3 separate regions of the Homo sapiens genome follow, and regions 2 and 3 are each linked to region 1. The links are contacts of gene promoters, found by promoter capture Hi-C in human tissues and cell types (Jung and others, 2019). All regions are on one chromosome and are shown on one strand. The core of a region is centred on a gene start or on the middle of the fragment in contact, and the rest is flanking DNA. Distances in the headings are between cores, read along the strand shown.

Evidence for each region. The method cuts DNA at HindIII sites, captures the fragments that hold promoters and counts their contacts. A contact is called where the count stands out against the background at its distance.
Region 2: a contact is called between a fragment that was not itself captured here and the fragment with the promoter of SLC39A6 in region 1, in 1 of the 25 tissues and cell types used here (H1 embryonic stem cells).
Region 3: a contact is called between a fragment that was not itself captured here and the fragment with the promoter of SLC39A6 in region 1, in 2 of the 25 tissues and cell types used here (dorsolateral prefrontal cortex and lymphoblastoid cells).

The regions. Positions count from the first base shown.
Region 1 is chr18:36,127,890-36,130,589 of GRCh38, forward strand. It overlaps SLC39A6 (solute carrier family 39 member 6), which reads right to left and starts at 1,451. Exons shown (of 10, transcript NM_012319.4): 1 at 1,225-1,451. ELP2 (elongator acetyltransferase complex subunit 2) reads left to right here and starts at 2,010. Exons shown (of 22, transcript NM_018255.4): 1 at 2,010-2,182. The coding sequence starts at 2,045. RefSeq lists enhancers at 1,249-1,754, 1,377-1,671, 1,702-1,891, 1,755-2,260, 2,052-2,261. The HindIII fragment of the contact is 7,969 bases long and covers 1-2,700 here.
Region 2 is chr18:36,462,952-36,465,739 of GRCh38, forward strand. All of the region lies in intron 3 of FHOD3 (formin homology 2 domain containing 3), which reads left to right. Among named protein-coding and RNA genes, the nearest start is that of FHOD3, 170 kb to the left of the region's middle. RefSeq lists a silencer at 1,321-1,521. The HindIII fragment of the contact is 3,086 bases long and covers 1-2,788 here.
Region 3 is chr18:36,562,937-36,565,636 of GRCh38, forward strand. All of the region lies in intron 5 of FHOD3 (formin homology 2 domain containing 3), which reads left to right. Among named protein-coding and RNA genes, the nearest start is that of TPGS2, 260 kb to the right of the region's middle. The HindIII fragment of the contact is 5,121 bases long and covers 1-2,700 here.

The DNA of each region.
Region 1 (2,700 bases), core at 201-2,700:
GGCGTGACCACTACGCCCAGCCTCAAATAAGTGTATACTTTAAATACACATTGAATCTTTTTTCCGACTTGACAATGAATCAGACACATTATGTCCATACATAGAATTCTTAAAGTAAACTGAACTTCATGAAAAACTCACTGTAGCATCCTTGTGTTACTACAAACCAGTCAACATTTAATCACAGGCTGTTAATCATCCACAGTAGTGTTTGGAACCAAAGGCCTGTGCCCCAAAGAGGAGGAAGCAATTGAGTTGGAGCTTGAAAAGCAGAATTCAGTTAAGCAGAGCCAGAATTCAGTTAATTCAGATCCAGCAGGATGTCCAGCACCAACGGTGGAGGTGATGGTGGTCAAACTCACATCTCCAGCAAAAGACGCAGACGTCAAGTTTACAACTAAGCAAGAGCATGGGGCTATCCAGCTCTACCACGGTCAGCTGTTCTTTGGACAGGGCTCTCGCATTCATTACCTTATCTAAAATACCGGTAAAACCTATTTTGCAAGGCGAAGGAGGAAAACACATGAAGGAATGTATATTACAAGTACTCGTTAAACTCATGTGTTGCACAAGTGCGAGGTATCATACAGGGAACAGTGGGAAATGGAGGTACGGCGTAGAACGAGGCTCCTGAAAGAGGAATCTTTGGGGCTTGAAGTTTCGGGAATTCTTTTACTAGGTAAAAGATAAACATTTAGAAATCATTCCCAGGAGAGAGGCGAGGAGCGGGGTGGGAGGGGACTAGCACAGGGGACAGCTCCGAGCCTTTCTCCAGGGAGGATGCTGAGCGCGGTCGTGGACCCGTTGAAGGATCTCCTTTCCTGCAAGTTGGTGTGTGCTGGAGGAAAAAGGAAAGCAGAAGGGAAGGGCCTTAGAGAAAAAGGCGAGTACAGAAAACGGAAAAGAGGGCACAAAGCTCTCTTCTAAAAGCTTTTTATTTCTAAACACGTCAGTCCCTTCTTCGAATATGGGATGAAAAGTACGGATCTTTTCCTCAAAAAATCCTCCGTTGCACCCCGAAGCCCATCTGAGCACCTTAAGAAGTCCGGCTCTCTAGGGTGAGTGGGCGCCTGCGGCGGGCTCCCCCCAGCATCCTCTTTCTGTAGCCCCCCTGCCCGGTCCGCAGGATCCGGTTCTCCGCAGAACCACCCCTACCCCGCCACGCCTGTCTGGCCTGAGGAGCTCCCCTCCCAGCCGCCCTGCTCCCGGACCTGAAAGACTCACGTCTCCGCGGCCTCGTTGTCCCACGGCCCGGCCACGCGCGCAGGTTTGGTTCCACACGGGCGGTCCAGAGGGCTCGGAACGGGCCCACTGGTGTCTTCGAGAAATCTCTACCAGGCGCGAACACGCGGTGGTTTCATTGGGTTGGCTGCCCCTCGGTCCGGGGGCAGCGCCGCGCAGCCACCCGGCAGCCGCGCCCCTAGCCTTCGCGAAGCTGGAAGACAATCACTAATTACCGCCGCGCGCAGCGCCGCGGGGAACCACCGCCCCCTTCGCCCAGGACTGCAGGGCATGCGCAGTGCGACCCCGGAACCCGGCTCCGCAGACGGATCCGCTTTTCCGTGTGTTCGCCGACGCCGCGGGGGCGTGGCGCGGCCCTAGCGCATTGTAAGCAGTTGGGGGTCATTTCCTCGAGGCCCTACTCGCTAGCCAGCGCCCCCGGGGCCAGCCCTGGCTGCTGCTGGGAGCCGGGTCGTAAGGGGCAGCGAGATGTTTCTGACGCTGCCCCAGGCACATGAGCCCCGGGTCCTTCGGGAGGGTCCCGAGCCACTCGGGTCGGATTTCGCTCTTGAGACAAAGGCCTGGCTCGTTCGCGGAGCGGGGCCACGGTCCAAGAGCAGAGCTAGCAAAGCGGCGGCCTTGCACAGGGGTTCCAGCCTGCGGTGGGAACGGAGAGTCTCAGGGGGGCGGGGCTGCCTCCGTCTGGCCCTCGGCTGGCTGCGAAACGTGGACTGGGTGATGCCTCAGGAGAAACCACCCTAGTAGTTCCGCTCCGAGGGCGGAAGTGCGCGTCTCTTGTTTGTGCGGCTGACCAGTTGGCGACATGGTGGCACCCGTGCTGGAGACTTCTCACGTGTTTTGCTGCCCAAACCGGGTGCGGGGAGTCCTGAACTGGAGCTCTGGGCCCAGAGGACTTCTGGCCTTTGGCACGTCCTGCTCCGTGGTGCTCTATGACCCCCTGGTAAGAGAGGTCGCTGGACGGCCGACCCTTGTGCTTTTCGGGTTGAACCTGTGGACGTGCTCCGGGCGCGCTGTTAGTTGCCGCCCCAGACCTAGGAGGCGAGTCGGGTCGGCTCAGGGGAGCGGGGTTTGGGCTCGGAGTCTCCAGTGGACCTGCCGGACTCGCTCCTCACCCCTCACCCTTTGCCGTCTCACGCGTGGCGTCATCCTAGGGTCATTGCTGCCCATGAGCTGCTAGTAACCTGTTAGTCCCACGCAGAAACCCGAATGATAAGCATCTTACCTGAAGCCTTCCTTGGGAACTGTAGTACCGTTAATCAATTTGGGTTTTAAAACAATTGAAATTTATATGTAGATTAAAACCATCATCCCACAGGTGCAATCTCATTTCAGTATTTCCTTCAGTTTTGGTTAATGAACTTTTGTTGTATTGAATTTCAAGGAAATGTTACCTGTGTTTTAGCTACGGGAATGGACATTTTAGAGAAAGTGTCAGTTTGGGGGAAAGGTCATAGGGGA
Region 2 (2,788 bases), core at 231-2,730, 340 kb after region 1:
ATTGGATGGCTAAAATAATTTATATGAAATTACTGAATCTAGAAGTTTCTCAGTAGTTTAAAGACAAATAGTAATGTCTAGCAATAAATAGTAATGTCTCCAGTTGTATACCAACCCATTGCAACTCTGATTTCCATGATTTCTCAACTTTTTAAAAGATTGACAACTATGTTAATGGGAATTTTATCACCACATATTAACTAATTTAGATTTAAAATTTTAGTAAAATCCAAATTAGTTAGGTGGTTGTCTTCCATTTCCATTATCTCTGTTCATTTAGAATTGAATAAATAGGAATTATTTTCTGAAAACCTTGTAGGCTGTGACAAGCATTTAACCCAAGTGCCACTAAAATATATATATGTAATATATATTTTTATTTAAAAAAATAATATATATTTTTATTTAAAAAAATAATATATATTTTTATTTAAAAAAATAATATATATTTTTATTTAAAAAAATAATATATATTTTTATTTAAAAAATATATTTTTTATTTAAAAAATATTTTTGTTTATTTAAAAATTTTTTTTGTTTATTTAAAAAATATATATATTTTTTGAGACAGAATCTTGCCATGTCGCCCCAGGCTGGAGTGCAGTGGTGTTATCTCGGCTTACTGCAACCTCTGTCTCCCTGCCTCAAGCAATCATCCCACCTCAGCCTCCTGAGCTGGGACTACAGGTGTGCACCACCATGCCCAGCTAATTTTTGTATTTTCTGTAGAGATAGGGTTTCACCATGTTGCCCAGGCTGTTCTCGAACTCCTGTGCTTAAGCAATCTGCCCGCCTTAGCCTCCCAGTGCTGGGATTACAGGCATGAGCCACCATACCTGGCCCAAGTGCCAATTTATTTGCAGAAAATATAAATGTTCTCAGTGCTTTCTTCGTGTTTTTAAGCTTAGGAGACACTAGAAGTTGGAGAAATTAAAATCTAATTATTTTTCTTTAAAACTTTTTTTTCTTATTTGGGTTGCTGTTAAATAATAAAATACTCAAACATAAGATTGATTCAGAAAATAGCTTCTTAAGCTCAAAAATATTGCTAGAATTGTTCTCAATAATAGAACAAGTAGTTTTTGCAATGAGATTAAATAGGAGAAAGCAACCATCTTTAATTCTATTTAGTCAGAAGAGCCTTATGCTTCCAATAGCTGACATTCAACTTGGACCGTATCTGTGGCCAGGTTGATAATTCTTTTGGGAAACATGCCACTGCACTTGAGTTTTCAGATGATTGTGTCAATATTGACGTGTCGAAGAAATGAACTGCATGCCTCTCTGATAAAAGGTATCTGGTGAAGGGATTAGCAAAGGACAAGTCAGTTAGAGCAATAAACATTCCTTTCATTAGTAACGTTTGAGCAGTTCCTAAGGACATTTTGCTGCCCTTAAAATTATTCCAGAAAATGCTTACTGCTATTTGAGATGTGCAGCGGGGCAGACCTCTGGATACTTCTAAGGCTTGGTATGCTTTGTACTGGGTGATGCTGCCATACAGCTTGGACTCCAGCACCCAGGAGGCTCAGGCCAGGGATGGATTGGCTCCTGTGGAGTGAGTCAAGCCCAGTCAAGGAAACTTGGGTCAAGAAGATAAAAATTCCATCAACTAACACTTAAGAGACATTGCACTTCTTTTCCTTTGGTGACTGCCAATGTGATAACTTACAGAAGGGGAAAGGATCTGTGTGCAAGTGGAGAAAGAGAGGGAGTGCCAGAGACACAGTCAGAGAGGGAGACCAGGCTGGGTCCTTAGGAGGGAAGGAGGCCCAGGAGGAGGCAAAGGGGGAGGGAGGTCCTGGGAGGAGGAGGAGAGGGTTGGTTTCAGAGGAAATAAGAACAAAGACTCATCTTTCAGCACTCTTCTTGCTCCCACCCTCTGTCTCTCCCCCCTCTTTCTTCCTTCTTTCTTGTGTACCATAGGCCCCAAAACACACAGGGATAGCTGCCCTTCAGTGTCCGACTATCTTTTTCTGTGACACACACACACACACGCAGGCAAACTGCCATGGGATGTTTACAACTTTTTAAATAATAGTAAAATAGAAATATAAAAATTGGTATGACAATCTTAGGCAAAAAGTTAGACATGGCTGGGCGCTGTGGCTCACGCCTGTAATCCCAGCACTTTGGGAGGCTGAGGAGGGCGGATCACTTCAGGACAAGAGTTCGAGACCAGCCTGGCCAACATGGTGAAACCCCATCTCTACTAAAAATACAAAAATTAGCTGGGCATGGTGGCGGGCACCTGTAATTCCAGCTACTCAGGAGGCTGAGACAGGAGAATTGCTTGAACTCGGGAGGCGGAAGTTGCAGTGAGCTGAGATCATGCAATTGCACTCCAGCCTGGGTGACAGAGCAAACAAACAAACAAAAAAAACAATTAGACACGGATCTCATACCCTAAGAGGAGCACAAGCAATGATGTTCGTGGCTGCCTCCAGAACCATGGGTCCGAAATGACCTGGGCCTGGACTGGCGAGGGCTGAGGCTGTGGCCTGGGCTGGCTTCTGCAAAGCGCAGGGGTGGGAGCCAGGGGTTGGTACAGGAGGGGCAGTGCTGCCCACCCGCCCTTGTGGAAGGCTTTTCTAGCCCATTGCTCCTCCCTGACACTGCTTCCAGGGGTGTGATGGTGGAAGGCTTGGCTGATGGCTTCCTAATGATTCTAGGTTCATCAGACATTTGTGAGAGATTGATCACCCACACATTGACTTAAACCAAGGATCCTAAGTAGGTTTTCTTTCAAGGACCAAGCCTATTGATTGATACTAGATTTCTGAAATGC
Region 3 (2,700 bases), core at 177-2,676, 440 kb after region 1:
GGACAGGCCTAGGAACCCTGAGCCTGTCAGTCAGGGCCTGGGATGCCGGCCATCATGTAATCGCAGGACACAGTTTATGTGGCCTTTGCATGGGCTCAGCAACGAGTCCCCTCAGGTACGTGCTTCTAGACACAGAGTCTTCATGGTTGGTGAAATTTTAGTAAGGAAGTTGAGTAAATTGAGGGTTTTTAAAGTTAAAATTCTAAAAGTGTTGAAATCCTAAATAGAGAGAAGTACAGAATTAATATACTAGCATGTACTCTTAATTGTTTTACATAACATCCAAAAACCTATTTCTGATTTTTACAGAGGACTGATTTTTGAAGGGTTGTATATTAATAAGGCACATTTGTGGAATCATGTCTGAAACCTCAGACTGCAGATAGAAATACCTAGTGAAAGCTTGCTCCCTAGTGCCAGACACTTCATAATACACCCCCGCAGGGGCTTTCGAGTAATGTTACCTTGGAACTGGGAGTTTTGGAGGTCTTTGGGTTAAACCCTTGTGTCTCTCAGATGATACCATTGAAGTCCAGAGAGGTTAATTAGCATAACAGCATCAAGAACAGCCAACCATCAGCCACGTGCTGTGCTAATACATCAGCATATTTCATCCTAACCATACAGGATCCAGGTTGGACTTGTCTTCCATCTTATGACTGCGTAAGCTCCATAGTTTTTGGAAGTAAGAAATGGTGGAGATTACATGCAAACCAGCTTCTCCGTGGGTTTAAGTCCCGTGAGTTTTCTTGATGCGGTACTGTCTTAGAAGCAAAAATCAGGGGAACTATTCTGGTATCTTTTCTTTTCTCATGCCCTGGAAACTCATGTGTCTTCTCCCAGCTACATGTGCCCCATCCTTTAAGGTATGTTTCTTGTCAGCCTCTCCATGAATCCTCCTCTAATTACTCAGGCTCATATCAGCTGCACCCTTCTCTGAATCTGGGTGTTTATGAGCTCCATTCCACTCTGCTTGGGCTTAATTACTCGTCTCTACACCTTGTGTTCATTGTCTCTGTCACCTGGTAAGCAGGGATGTCAGTCAGGGACAGATGCCCTAAGTGTATGTGTCCTGCATGGGCCGTCACTAAGCTAGGAGGAGCTGCTTTTCCCGGGTTCATTGGCCAAGCCCTTGTCACTGACTCGGTGTCACCCCAGGTGACACCCCAGGTGAACACATGAGCGCGAATGAGACAGTCCAGCCACTGCTGACCCTGCTGCAGAGTCCATTTCTGGTTCATTCCACCTGTGGCTGTGACCTGTTTTGGAGAGGCTGTGTGCTTCCACTGGTATTTCATTGGATGTAAGTCTTAGAAGATCATTATAGAATAGATCATTAAAATGACTGTTTTACTTTCCATAGAGAACCTAGAAGTCTGCCAAAAATTTTTAGAGGTTCAAAACTTGCTAATCTGTTATACTTTCCTTCATTCCTTTGGTGTCTCCTTATCTAAAATATGGGGGACTGTAGAACGGGAAAGACTGGGAGAGGGTGAGGAGCATAGGTGTAACTGAGGCTGCTACAGCCCAGCAGTAATGAAGCACCTGTTTCTGTACAGGTGGCTGATGAGGGCTCCTTTTAAATCTTTAGCATGGGAATCTTGGATATAAACTTTGCTGCTGTTGGGAAGATGAATGAATAGGCCAGAAACAAACCAGTCTTCTGTGTGTATTAGATGGGAGAAGATGCAGAGAGCTTAGCTACATAATGTCCTGCTGGGAAGAAAGGTCTATCAGAAAGAAGCACATCAGTGTCAGTGTTTCTGTTTGGAAGGCCTGGGGAGGAGGGAGGGGAGACGGGCCCTCCCTCCTTTGAGAGTTACTAAGAGTTAAGCTTGTAAGTGTTAGGGGAGAATATTAGGTCTGATTTTTTTAACAACTTTTTTGGGGGACCTTTTTTAGAAAATGGTCATTCTAAGGTAGAGAGAGGGTAGTAATTTAAGACTGCTTTAGAAAAATTTGCATTGCAAATGCTGCTAAATGTCAGCAAGGGACTCAAAACTTTGACACCTTGTTGGAGCTCTTTGTGCTGATTAAATTCTTGTCTCCAGCCTAGAATTGGCAGCTTATTCTCCTTAATTTTCATGCTGTAATAGGTATTGAAAGAGTATTTCTTTGACAGTTGCCCTTGGGGAAAACTGGACCGGAGCTTGTTATTTAGGGCAGACAATTAAGTGGAAAAGAATAATAACTAGACTCCAAGGTCTTCATTTAGTTCCAAGAATGTCAACAATATCAACCTCTTTTTAATACTTACTGCGGGCTCTGGTGAATAATGGAAATTAGGGGTAGACAAATCCAGTTCAGAGTTAAGAAGAATGAATTTTAATGGTCTGATTAAAATTAATTGAAATCCCTTCTTTAAGATGAATTAGCCCTTCCCAGAAGATAAGGGGTGAGTGATACTAATAGTTTTGTTTTGTTTTTCTCTCTGGAGATTACTTTGATTTAAAAACTCACTGCACATTTTCAGAGCTCCTGTGTTCTAATTGAAGAAAGCAGTGCCTATCTTGGTGCTTAGTGATGGGCTCATGGAAGAACTGATTGTACCCTACAGTATCCCCATCTTCATTCCCAATGTGCAAATCACAGATCATTCCTCCCAAAACAAAATAAAACCTAGTTACCACTGATACTTGCTTATAGCAGAATGTTGCCCTGTGGTAAGTTTCTTTAATGTTTCATACCATTCATTTATTT